3 separate regions of the Homo sapiens genome follow, and all the other regions are linked to region 2. The links are contacts of gene promoters, found by promoter capture Hi-C in human tissues and cell types (Jung and others, 2019). All regions are on one chromosome and are shown on one strand. Each heading gives the region's core, a stretch centred on a gene start or on the middle of the fragment in contact. The rest is flanking DNA. Distances are from core to core; before and after follow the strand shown.

Evidence for each region. Contacts are between HindIII fragments. The study calls those that stand out against the background at their distance.
Region 1: a contact is called between a fragment that was not itself captured here and the fragment with the promoter of OR2M3 in region 2, in 2 of the 25 tissues and cell types used here (adrenal gland and liver).
Region 3: a fragment that was not itself captured here is called in contact with the fragment with the promoter of OR2M3 in region 2 in 3 of the 25 tissues and cell types used here (neural progenitor cells, pancreas and small bowel).

What each region holds. Positions count from the first base shown.
Region 1 is chr1:248,277,974-248,282,048 of GRCh38, reverse strand. OR2T33 (olfactory receptor family 2 subfamily T member 33) reads left to right here and starts at 4,073. Exons shown (of 2, transcript NM_001004695.2): 1 at 4,073-4,075. The HindIII fragment of the contact is 7,061 bases long and covers 1-4,075 here.
Region 2 is chr1:248,194,001-248,198,649 of GRCh38, reverse strand. It overlaps OR2M3 (olfactory receptor family 2 subfamily M member 3), which reads right to left and starts at 1,385. Exons shown (of 2, transcript NM_001004689.2): 1 at 1,349-1,385. The HindIII fragment of the contact is 15,210 bases long and covers 1-4,649 here.
Region 3 is chr1:248,130,460-248,134,696 of GRCh38, reverse strand. No RefSeq gene overlaps it. Among named protein-coding and RNA genes, the nearest start is that of OR2M5, 13 kb to the left of the region's middle. The HindIII fragment of the contact is 6,525 bases long and covers 1-4,237 here.

The sequences.
Region 1 (4,075 bases), core at 1,576-4,075, 82 kb before region 2:
AGCTGGAGGCATTGCACTACCTGACTTCAAACTATACTACAAGGCTACAATAATCAAAACAGCATGTTACTGGTACAACAACAGACACATAGACCAATGGAACAGAATGGAGAGCCCAGAAATAATGCCGTACACCTACAGCCATGTGATTTTCACCAAAGTCTACCAAGATAATCAATAGAGAAATGACTTCCTGTTCAAAAAATGGTGCTGGGATAACTGTCTAGTCAAATGCAGAAGATTGTAACTGGAACCCTTCCTCAAATCACATACAAAAGTCAACTTTAGATGGACTAAAGACTTAAATGTAAAACATAAAACTATAAATACTCTGAAAACTAATTTAGGAAATGCCATTCTGGATATAGGACCTGGCAAAGATTTTACAACGAAGATGCCAAAATTGATTGCAACAAAAAAAAACCATAAATTAACAAGTGGAACCTAATTAAATTAAAGAGCCCTTGCAGCAAAAAAGAAATTATTAAAGGAGAAAACACAAACTACAGAATGGGATAAAATATTTGCAAATATGCATGCAACAAAATTTACTATCCAGAATCTACAAGAAATTTAATCAAATTAACAGAAAACAAACAACTCCAATAAAAAGTGGGCAAAGGACATGAATAGACCCTTTTCAAAAGATGACATTCATGTTGCCAATAAGCATATGGAAAAGTGCTCAACATCACTAATCGTTAGAGAAATGCACAACAAAACCGCAATGAGATATCATCTCATACCAGTAAGAATGGATATTATTAAAAAATCTAAAAATAACAAATGATGGTGAGGTTGCAGAGAAAAGGGAACGCTTATACACCCTTGGTAGGAATGTAGATTAGTTCAACCATTGTGGAAAGCAGCTTTGTGATTTCTCAAAGAACTTAAAACTGAACTACCATTCGACCCACCCATCTCAATATTACTTGTATACCCAAAGGAGTATACATTGTTCTATAGTAAAATAACCTGCACATGTATGTTCATTCCAGCACTATTCACAGTAGTGAAGACATGGAATCCACCTCCATGCCCATCAATAGTAGACTGGATAACAAAAATGTAGTACATATACACCACGAAATACTATGCATCCATAAAAAGACTGAGATTATGTCCTTTGCAGCAACATGGGAGAAGTGGAGGCCATTAGTCTAAGCAAAGCAACAAAGGAACTACAAACCAAATACTGCATGTTCTCACTTATAAGTGGGAGCTAAACATTAAGTACACATGGACACACAGACAGGAACAACAGACACCGGGGCCTACTTGAGGGTGGAAGGTGAGAGACAATGAGAAACCACCTACTGGGTACTATGCTTATTACCTGCATGACAAAATAATCTGTACATGAAACCTCTGTGACCTACAATTTACCTGTATGACAAATTTGCACATATACCCCAAAAACTAGAAATTAAAAAACATACTAAACGAAAGGGTTCAGGGAGCTTCTGTGTCAGCAAACACATTTACATACCCTGAGAGTGGCACACCCCAAGTCCACAGAGATGTTACCAAACGAAACTCAAGTCAGCCTGCCTGATACAGCAAAGTCAAATGCCGACATGCAGATTGCCGCAAAAGAAAAGGAGGAATTTATTACAGGGGGCCAAGCAAGGAGAAGTGGGCAGCTAATGCTTAAGATCTGAACTCTCTGATGGATGGCTTACAGGTAAGTTTTTAAAGGCAGGGAGACAGAGGTTACAGGCAAAGTCATAAATCAGTATATTGACATTATATATGGGCTTAACCTGAAAATATGGGACATCTCAAAGTCAGGGCCCACACATCTTAGGTAGAGTCAAACATTTTCTGATTTGTGATTGGTTAACGAGGCAAAGTTTTGTCTAAAAAATTGGAATCAGCAGAAAAGAATTTTAGCTCTCATCCATGGGTGTGACTTCCTCCAGGCCTCTCAGGAAGAAATTCAGAAGAAAAAGTGGTGGTCTGAGTTCTGTCCTCAGTTCCTCCTTATCTGAGGTCTATGTGCCAGTAGATCTATTTAGTGGGGTTCCAGGTTTCTGAAAAACAACTCATGAACATATGGAAAGATGTTATTTTAGTTTTTATAATGGAACTAAACATTCTGTGATTTTTAACTTCCTTGGCTATTGCATTAGGCAATTATTACCTTCTTACTTATGAAGTTGCTTGTTTATTTCTCAGTACTAGCTAGGTGCCTGGAATTTCCCTGAAGGAACTTAAGCTTTTCCTTTATCTCTGTACTTGGAGGAACTTGCAGGTCACTAAGAGGGGTCCCCGCTTCATCTCATGCCCCATTACCCAACTTCTGGGGAGGTGGGGGCTGTAGATTGAGTCAATTACCAATAGCCACATTAATGTCTATATAATGAAACCACCATAAAACCCATAATGAAAGGGTTCAGGGAGCTTCTGAGTTGGCAAACACATTTACTTGCCCAGAGGATTGCAGACCCCAACTCCACAGACAGGAGCTCGCGGGCTTGGGATTCTTCTGGAACTTCCCAGATGTACCTCTTCATCTGACTCTTCATTTGTATCCCTTATAATAAACTATAATAGTGAGTGTAGCATTTTCTTTATTTTCATGCTTCATTCTAGCCAGTTATATAACCTGAAGCAGAGTGGTTGTGAGAACCTCCAACTTTGTATCCAAATCAGGTAGAAGTAACCTGGATACCCCCTACTTGAGACTGACGTCTGAAGGGAAGGCAGTCTTGTGGGATTGATTTCTGCGACATCTGGAGTCTGATGCTCCAGACTGCAGTAAGTGTCAGGACTAAATTAAATAGTAAGACACTTAGTTGGTGTGAGAGTTGGAGAAGTAGTATTGGAAAAGACACTGTGAATTTGATTTCAAAAGAAAAAAAAGTTTCGCTATTTTTGTTTTGTTTCCAATTATTATAAAACTGGTTTATGTCTTACTTGGCACGGACAGAAATTCTTTACATGTCTGCTTGACATAACAACGTCACAGATTCTGGACCGTAATTTATGGTAAATGGCAAATCAAACACAGAAGCATTCACCCAGAGCACTAAATAGTCTTTGGGCAGAACTATTAAACACCAAAAGAACAGGCTACCCTGTCCTTATCTTATTTTCTTTTAGATAAGTTTTTATAATATTTAGACCAGAATCAACATTACTCTGCCTTAGAGGGATTTTTTTTTCTTTCAGAACAATCACAATAATGATATCAATGAACATGGATAGAGAATATACTATGGGCCAGATAGTCTCCCAGGTGGTTTACAAGTATTTTATTTATTCCTTTCAATAATGCTACAAAGCAAGCAATTTTATTATGCATCTTTTATAGGAAAGGAACATGAAGATCATGTTATCCAAAAATCATGAAATGGGTAAGGAATAGAAGCTAGATTCAAAACAAAACACAAAAACATTTAAACATTTAAACATGCAAAGTTGGGAATTGATTAGTTTATAGGCTATCAAAGCATTGTGACCCAGTTCAAAATAGTTGAAATTCCCCTTCAGATTTTTTTATAAAAGGCAGTATTTCTCAAAGTGTAATCCATAAGTATTCTGAATGATTCAGATGTTCCTCAACCTTTAAGAACCACAAATCTATGATGTGAACATCAAAGTTCTTTCACTCTGCTACCTCATGACAGTTAATATAAATATGGTATTTAAAACCGTTAGCATTGTTTACATTGCTATATTAATGTAGAAGTTCACAGAACAAACAGCTAATTAAAAGATTAAATAACACGCATGTAAATGCATGTAAAATGCCGAGCATATTCACTAGCATGTAGAAATGTTCAATAAATGAAATATATTATTATTATCATGATACAATTACAGAAAATTAAAAACTTATTTCAGGTAATTAAGTCATATTTATTCAGTTCAGGGATTGTCAATGATCAGAATTCTGGATTTTGTCTTTACTAATTCATTGCACTTGCTATCCTTAGCCAGGGACATATCTGTTCATCTTCCCAATCACAGTCGTTTTGCTTTTACCAAAACTTGGATGCTAAATTAGTTCACTACATATATTCACCCTTAGGAAATACTGAAATCTGTATTCCCTTGCCAAAGGTGATTT
Region 2 (4,649 bases), core at 136-2,635:
GAGGGAGATGATGGAAAAGAGACACTGAGTGGCCAGAATTTGATCAAAAAAGTTGTAAAGCATTATGTATCAGACAGCATGTGTAATCCACTGTGTAATCCACTGAGGTTGCTAAACTGACTTTACCCTTTTGTAATAGGAATGATCAGGAAACAACACAAAACAACAAATCTCTCATATTAGCAAAAATGAGCATAGCAACTTTATATGTAATATAAAAATGCAACCTGCATGTGCACTAACGATGGAATTTATAAGCATAACTACAAGAAGTAGCATTGATGAGTCTCACAAATAGAATGTTGAATGAACAAAGTAGATCACAAGGAATGCCCTCATGAATCCTATTATGAGTAATTTAAACACACATCTAAAAATCACTTATGAAGCACAGCAATACTGGAATAATGACTACCTACAAAATGGGCCTGAAAAGTTATATAATCAGAGAGAGTTAAACTGTTTTTCAAAGGCACTGGTAATATTTTAAAGCATTTTACAAAATGTATATCTAACATATTTTTGTAAATAAACATTTTATACTCTGAAGTTTAATAAAATATTTTAAAAATAGGTGTAAACGTCTTAAAAGAATACATGACAAATGTAAAGCATTCATTAATACGGGTTGAGGATTCCTTATCCAAAATGCTTGGGACCAGACGTGTTGCAGATTTCAGATTCTTTTTCACACTTTGGAATATCTGCATAGCTAATAATGAGATTTTTTTGGAATAGAACCAAGTGTAAGGAAAAAATTTATGTTCTATGTATACCTTATACAAATAGCCTGAAGGTAATTTTATGCAGTATTTTAAAACAATTTTGTGTATGGGAGAAAGTTTGTGAACCATCAGGAAGCAAAAGTGTCACCATCTCATGTCAGCACTGAAAAGGTTCTGATTTTGGAGTGCTTTGGGTATTAGATTTTGGTTTAGGAATTCTCATCCTGCATGAGCTAAAATTATTAAAAGAAAAGAGAACGTGGCCAAAATTTTCAAATCATTGTTTATGGTTCTCATCTGCTACTCTTCTCCTCTGACATCTATTCACTGTCAATTTCTTTTTCAAATCTGGAATACCAGGACATGGAAAAACAAAAGTAATGGATTTTATCCAATCTTTCACACTGATAAGCTGGAGCAAGTAACCACTCCTTCTGCCTCAGATTGTACCACATTTCTCAAAGTAATATTGTACAGATAAAATAGAATAATGTTTATAAAATTCTTAGCACAAAAAATGACTTAAGAAATGAGATCAATCATCACCATGTTCAGCAGAAATTTCAGCACTAGCTTATACAAAGTCATGCTTGCGCTTGGTTAACTTACCTCTTAGTACTTACCTGAATAGTGTATATTTTCAGTGAGATTGTGGTTTCCTGGAAAGGCAAAAATATATAAATATCTTACAGGTTTTATGTTTCCATAATAAGAAAAAAAAGCACCTAACGTACAGTTGGAATCTTTATGGTTATTGAAAAATAAATGAAAAGACAAAAACTTAAATTTTCAGCCCTTGGGGAATCCATTCCCTTGTCTTTAATTTTAAAAGTTTGTATTTCCTTCTGTCTCCTCTCCTAGGACATGAAGCCGAATTAGCTTCCTTTTCTTGAAAATACTACAAAGATAATTACGCCTCCTTCCTTGTAGATTAGGGTGAACTTTCTGAAACTTCCCCCTCTCTCTCACATGATGAGGTGAAACACACTAAGTGCTTTCTGTGTAACTGGCACTATGTTTAAAAAAAAAAGGTTTGTAAATTAACATAATACTTACAACCATTGTGTATGCCAGATACCCCTATTAGACACATGTATATATTATTATATAATATATTTAATTATATTGTCGTATGTTTTACATGTGAAACTGAGGGCAGAAGTAAATTGACGTCTCAGAGCTAGAGAATGGCAGTCAGGGTGTTCCAGGCTAATATCATTCCTCTTCCATGGTTTCTCTTCACTCTTCCTTCTGCTCCATCATCAAAGCAAGATATGTTTGGGTAGAATTGGCATTTTTAACATCTTAAAGTTCCCTACATAATTCTAATTCTATTTGTATGTTCTTTAGTATGTTTTCTATCCCTTAAAACGCCTGTATATATTTTCTGTCAAAGTCATTATAAAATTGAAATGTTTATAGGTATTTTATATTTCGTTGCTCTAGTGTATGGATTATTGTTTCTATTACATCTTCTATTTGTTTTTGTTAATATATAGAAATCTGTTAATTGTTGCTTATAGACCTTGAATCCAAGAATGGTAATTTTTTTGTATTCCTTAGTGAAGAGAAAAATATTACATACAATGGATGAAACAACTTTATATGTCTTTCCAATTTTATCTATTTTCCTTGCATCATTTGATTAAAATATATATATTTAAAATGTTGAAGAACAATATTCTTGAGTACCTGAAGCCTTTAGCGATATAGTTCACCATGACATATAGTGTTTGTTTGAGGTTTTGGTAGGTGTATTCAGCACATTAGCAAAATCCCATTGTATTTCTTTTACCAATGCTTTCTTCAATAAATGTTCACTGAATTGTATTGAATGATATCCTGTTTTTACTGAGATAATGTTATTGTTTTTCTTAAATTGTTCATAGCCTGAATTACAAGGATAGCTATTTGTATATTTAGAAATATTTCAGTGGATGACAATGTATAAAACAAATAAAACACCAATGTACCCATCACCAGCTTAAAATAAAATATTACAGGCTGGGCATAGTGGCTCACGCCTGTAATCCCAGCACTTTGGGAGGCCAAGGCAGGTGGATCACTTGAGGCCAGGAGTTCGAGACCAGCCTGGCCAATATGGTGAAACCCCATCTCAACTGAAAATACAAAAATTAGCAGGGCATGGTGGCTCAGGCCTGTCCCACCTACTCAGGAGGCTAAGGCAGGATAATCGCTTGAACTTGAGAGGTGGAGATTGCAGTGAGCTGAGATTGCGCCACTGCACTCCAGCCTCAGCGACAGAGCAAGACCCCATCTCAAATATAAAATATACCATATAAAAATAAAACAAAATAATAAATAAAATATTACAGATTAATAGATGTCTGTGCGCACATAACCTGAATGTATGTTATTTATTATTTGCCTCTAGAGATAACAGAAGCCTACATTTTTGGTTAAATACTCTCCTTTCTTTATTTTAGAAGTAAATGTTTCATCCTTCCAGCTAAATTCCAGTACTTCGAAAGAGGTAAAACAATGATGTACTGGGACAAAAGTGCAGCAATATACATTTGTTTGAAAGACTGGTAAAATAAATAAAACTCTTAAAAAACCATAAGCCTATTCTGAATGCCCAAGAAGTCCTGGAATACAGAATGGCTTCCTCCTTCACTATTTCTCAAGAAGTGCTGTGGCTATTTGCTTCAGATTGTCCTGGGATTACTTTCTCAATCAGTTATTACTGGTTATGTCCTGGTTGTAGTACACAATTAAAATCTCACTAATGTCCTCTGCATTGTCATTCTAGTTTTATTTAAGCAACCAGCGAAATATGTTCTAAACATGTTTTAGAATACCCCCTTTAATCCTTTTCAAACATGTTAAAATAAGGAGCCAAAACTGTATTAATATAGGTAGCAAAGGTCCACATTAAGTGGTGCTGAAATCGGGGAAATGTCCAAAACCAGTTGCTAGGGTGTAAGAGTGGGTGCCATTGTCAAAAGCTTGCAAAAACCTGTATTTACCGAGGGATACCGGCATTGTATCAGGTCAAAATTGGGACCCTTTGCAATAAGTCAGCAGGAATAAGGCAGCGGCAAATGCAGAATGTGTGAGTCATGAAACGTAAGAGCCAGCGCCAGAGTGTCACATTATTTCACCAAGCGTGAACTTCACAAATGCATCATCCTGTTCTGCCAGTTTTGTGTTTGATTTCTTCATGCTCTTCTCGAATTTTCTCATCACATTCTTTCAGAAAACGTTCACAGACCTACTCACCCTGCCCTAGAGTAGACAAGGCCTGTCTTTATTTAATGGTGAGGATGTTATAGATGAAGTCCTTTGAGGAGAAATGCACGTGACCGTGCATCAGAAGTACGAGGTGGATCTGTCGGTTGGAAACTAGTTTCTGAAACGCCTTCTCTTCCGCATGCGTTTATTCTCTTATGCTGCAAAGAATTTGCTCCGTGGTGAGGGGAGAGGAGACTGGAGGGGGACAGCTCCATTCCCAGCTACTTCTGCAGAAAGTATAATGGCCATTCTGACTGGAGTTGGATGGTATCTCATTGTGGTTTTGATTTGGATTTCTCTAATGATAAGTGATGATGAGCTTTTTTATCATATGTTAGTTGGATGCATAAATGTCTTTTTTTGAGAAGTGTCTGTTCATACACTTCTCCCATTTTTTGATGAGGTTGTTTTTTTCTTGTAAATTTGGTTATGTTCCTTGTAGATTCTGGATGTTAGACCTTTGTCAGATGGATAGATTGTGAAAATTTGTTCCCATTCCATAGGTTGCCTGTTCACTCTGATGCTAGTTTCTTTTGCTGTGCAGAAGCACTTCAGTTTAATTAGATCTCATTTGTCAATTTTGGCTTTTGCTGCAATTGCTCTTGGTGTTTTTTGTCATGAAGTCTTTGCCTATACCTATGTCCTGAATGGTATTGCCTAGGTTTTTTT
Region 3 (4,237 bases), core at 1,665-4,164, 65 kb after region 2:
ACACAGGTTACTATTTGCACTTGATCCTCTCCTCTCCTATAGAGTTAAGACTAGGGGCTCTACCTGCTCTCGATCTCATGCTATGTGAGCAGTGTTCAACTATCAACCCCTCAACCATGCTTTCTCAGAAAACTCCATTTAAAATTTCAAAACATAATGAATTTTATTTCCCTATCTTGTTTTATTTTTACAGCATTTTCACCTCCTAGTACTCCATAAAATTTACTTGTGCAACTTGAGTTTTTGTACTTTGCTAGAGAAATATGCTTAAAAACAAACTCTCCTCAAAACCCAAGAATCCTCTTCATAAATTTAGAAGAAAATAAAACAATTTAATTATTGAGTAAGTATTACAGGAGAATGTAATATTCATCACAGGCAACTCACCAAACTGCTTGCAAAGATAGAATGAAATCTCACTCTTTTTGATAGCTAACTCAATATAACCCACTTCATACTTTAAATAGGCTTTATAATGTGGGGTCAGATGACAGCAGAAGTTAGACCTATGGTTCTTCCTATAACCTGAAAGATGGGGTTGTTACCTTCCTTTATTACATTTCTTGACTTTTTAATAATCGCCATTCTGACTGACGTGAGATGGTGTCTCGTTGTGATTTGCATTTCTCTAATAATCACTGATGATGAGCTCTTTTTCATATGTTTGTTGCCTGCATAAATGTCTTCTTTTGAGAAGTGTCTGTTCATATGCTTTGCCCACTTTTTGATGAAGTTGTTTGGTTTTGACTTGTACATTTATATTCCTTATAGATTCTGGATATTAGAACTGTGAGAGATGGGTAGACTGCAAATTTTTCTCCCATTCTGTAGGTTGCCTCTTCACTCTGATGCTAGTTTATTTGGCTGTGCAGAAGCTCTTCAGTTTAATTAGATCCGATTTGTCAATTTTGGGTTTGTTGCAATTGCTTTTGGTGTTTTTGTGATGAAGTGTTTTCCCATGACTATGTCCTGAATGGTATTGCTTATGTTTTCTTCTAGTGATTTTATGTTTTTGGGTTTTATATTTAAGTCTTCAATCTATCTTAATTTTTGTATAATGTGTAAGGAGGGGGATCTAGTTTCAGTTTTCTGCATATGGTTAGCCTGTTTTCCCAGCAATATTTATTAAAAAGGGAATAATTTCCCCATTGCTTATTTTTGTCAGATTTGTCAAAAATTAGATGACTGTAGATATACGGTGTTATTTCTGAATTTTCTCTTTTGTTCTATTGGCCTATATGTCTGTTTTGGTACCAGCACCATGCTGTTTTGGTTACCGTAGCCTTGTAGTGTAGTTTGAAGTCAAGTAGCATGATGCCTCTAGGTTGTTCTTTTTGTTTAGGATTTTCTTAGCTATACAGGCTCTTTTTTGATTCCATGTAAAATTTAAAGAAGTATTTTCTAATTCTGTGAAGAATGTCAATGTAGTTTGAAGGGAGTAACATTAAATCTATAAATTACTTTGGGCAGTATGGCCATTTACATGATATTGATTCTTCCTATCCATAAGAATGGAATGTTTTTCCATTTCTTTGTGTCCGCTCTTATTTCCTTGAGCCGTGGTTTGTAGTCCTCCTTGAGAGGTCCTTCACATCCCTTGTTAGCTGTATTCCTAGGTATTTTATTCTCTTTGTAGCAATTGAGAATGGTAGTTAATTCATGATCAGGCTCTCTGCTTGACTATTGCTGGTATATAGGAATGCTTGTGATTTTTGCACATTGATTTTGTATCCTAAGATTTTACTGAAGCTGTTTGTCAGCTTAAGTTGTTTTTGGGCTGAGATGATGGAGTTGTCTAAATATAGAATCATGTCACTTGCAAAAAGGCAATTTGACTTCCTCTCTTTTTATTTGAATACTTTTTAAAAATATATTGCCTGATTGCCCTAGCCAGAACTTCCAAAACTGTATTGAATAGGAATGGTGAGAGAGGGCATGCTTGTCTTGTGCCGGTGTTCAACAGGAATGCTTACAGCTTTTGTGATTCAGTATAATATTGCCTATGGCTTTGTCACAAATAGCACTTATAATTTTGAGATATGTTTCATCAATACCTAGTTTATTGAGAGTTTTTAATATGAAGGAATGTTGAATTTTATCAAAGGACTTTTCTGCATCTATTGAAAGAATCATGTGGTTTTTGCCTTTGGCTCTGTTTATATGATGGGTTACATTTATTGATTTGCATATATTGAACCAGCCTTGCATCCCAGAGATGAAGCCAGCTCGATTGGGGTGTATAAGCTTTTTGATGTGCTGCTGGATTTAGTTTGCTAGTATTTTATTGAGGATTTTGACATCAATGTTCATCTGAGATATTGGCTTGAAGTTTTCTTTTTTTTGTTTTGTCTCTGCCATGTTGTGTTAGCAAGATGATGCTGACCTCATAAAATCAGTTAGGGAGGAGCCCCTCATTTTCAATTATTTGGAATAGTTTCAGAATAAATAGTGCCAACCTCTCTTTATACTTCTGGTAGAATTTGGCTGTGAATACATCTGGTCCTGGGCTTTTTTTGTTGGTAGGCTATTAATTACTGCCTCCATTTCAGAACTTGTTATTGGTTTAATCAGGGATTTGACTCCTTCCTGGTTTAGTCTTGGGAGAATGTATGTGTCCAGGGATTTATCCATTGCTTCTAGGTTTTCTAGTTTATTTACATAGAAGTGTTTATAGTATTCTCTGATGGTAATTTGTATATCTGTGGGGCCATTGGTGATATCCTCTTTATCATTTTTTATTGTGTCTATTTGATTCTTCTCTCCTTTCTTCAATAGTCTAGCCTGTGGTCTATCTATTTTGTTATTTTTTTCAAAAAAACTAGCTCCTGGATTCATTGATTTTTTTGAAGGGATTTTTGTGTCTCTATCTCCTTCAATTCTGCTCTGATCTTAGTTATTTCTTGTCTTTTGCTAACTTTTGGATTTGTTTGCTCTTTCTTCTCTAGTTCTTTTAATTCTGATGTCAGGGTGTTGATTTGAGATCTTTCCAGCTTTCTGATGTTGGCACTTCGTGCTATAAATTTCCCTTTTAACAATACTTTAGCTATGTCCCAGTGATTCTGACAAGTTGTCTCTTTGTTCTCATTGGTTACAAAGAATTTCTTGATTTCTGCATTACTTTTGTTATTTAGCTAGGAGTCAAGGAGGGGCGGGTTGTTCAATATCCATGAAACTGTGCGGTTTGAGTGAGCTTCTGAATCCTGAGTTCTAATTTGATTGCATTGACAAGGGCACTTATAACAGTTGCCCTTGTTTGTTATAATTTCCATTCCTTTGCATTTGCAGAGGAGTGTTTCACTTCCAATTATGGTTGATTTTAGAATAAGCCCCACGTGGCACTGAGAATAGTGTATATTCTTTTGATTTGGGGTGGAGAGTTCTGTAGACGTCTGTTAGGTCCACTTGATCCAGAGCAGAGTTCAAATCCTGAATATCCGTGTTAAATTTCTGTATTGTTGGTCTGTTTCATATTGACAGTTGGGGGTTAAAGTCTCCCACTATTATTGTGTGGGAGTCTAAGTTTCCTTGTAGGTCTCTTATAACTGGCTTTATGAATCTGGATGCTACTGTATTTGGTGCATCTGTATTTAGAATAGTTAGTTTCTCTTGTTGAATTGATCCCTTTACCGTCATTTAATGCCCTTGTTTTACTTTTTTGACCTCTGTTGCTTTAAAGTCTGCTTTATCAGAGAGTAGGATTGCAACTTCTGCTTTCCTTTGCTTTCCATTTGCTTGGTAAACTCTCCTCTATCGCTTTATTTTAGCCTCTGTGTGTCTTTGCGCATGAGATGGATCTCCTAAATATAGCACACTGATGGGTCTTCATATTTTATCCAATTTGCCAGTCTGTGTCTTTTAATTGGGGATTTCACCCATTTACATTTAAGGCTAAAATTGTTATGTGTGATTTTGATCCCGTCATCATGATGCTAGCTGGTTATTTTGCACACTAGTTGATGCAGTTTCTTCATACTATCATTGGTCATCATATTTTGCTGTGTTACTTCAGTGGCTGGTACCAGATTTTCCTTTTCATATTTAGTGGTTCCTTTGGGACCTCTTGAAAGGCAGGCCTGGTGGTGATGAAGTTCCTTATCATTTCCTTGTGTGGAAAGCATTTTCTTTCTCCTTCACTTATGAAGCTTAGTTTGCCTGGGTATGAAATTCTGGGTTGAAAATTCTTTTCTTTAAGTATGTTGAATAGTTGCCCCACTCTCTTCTAGCTTGTAGGGTTTCT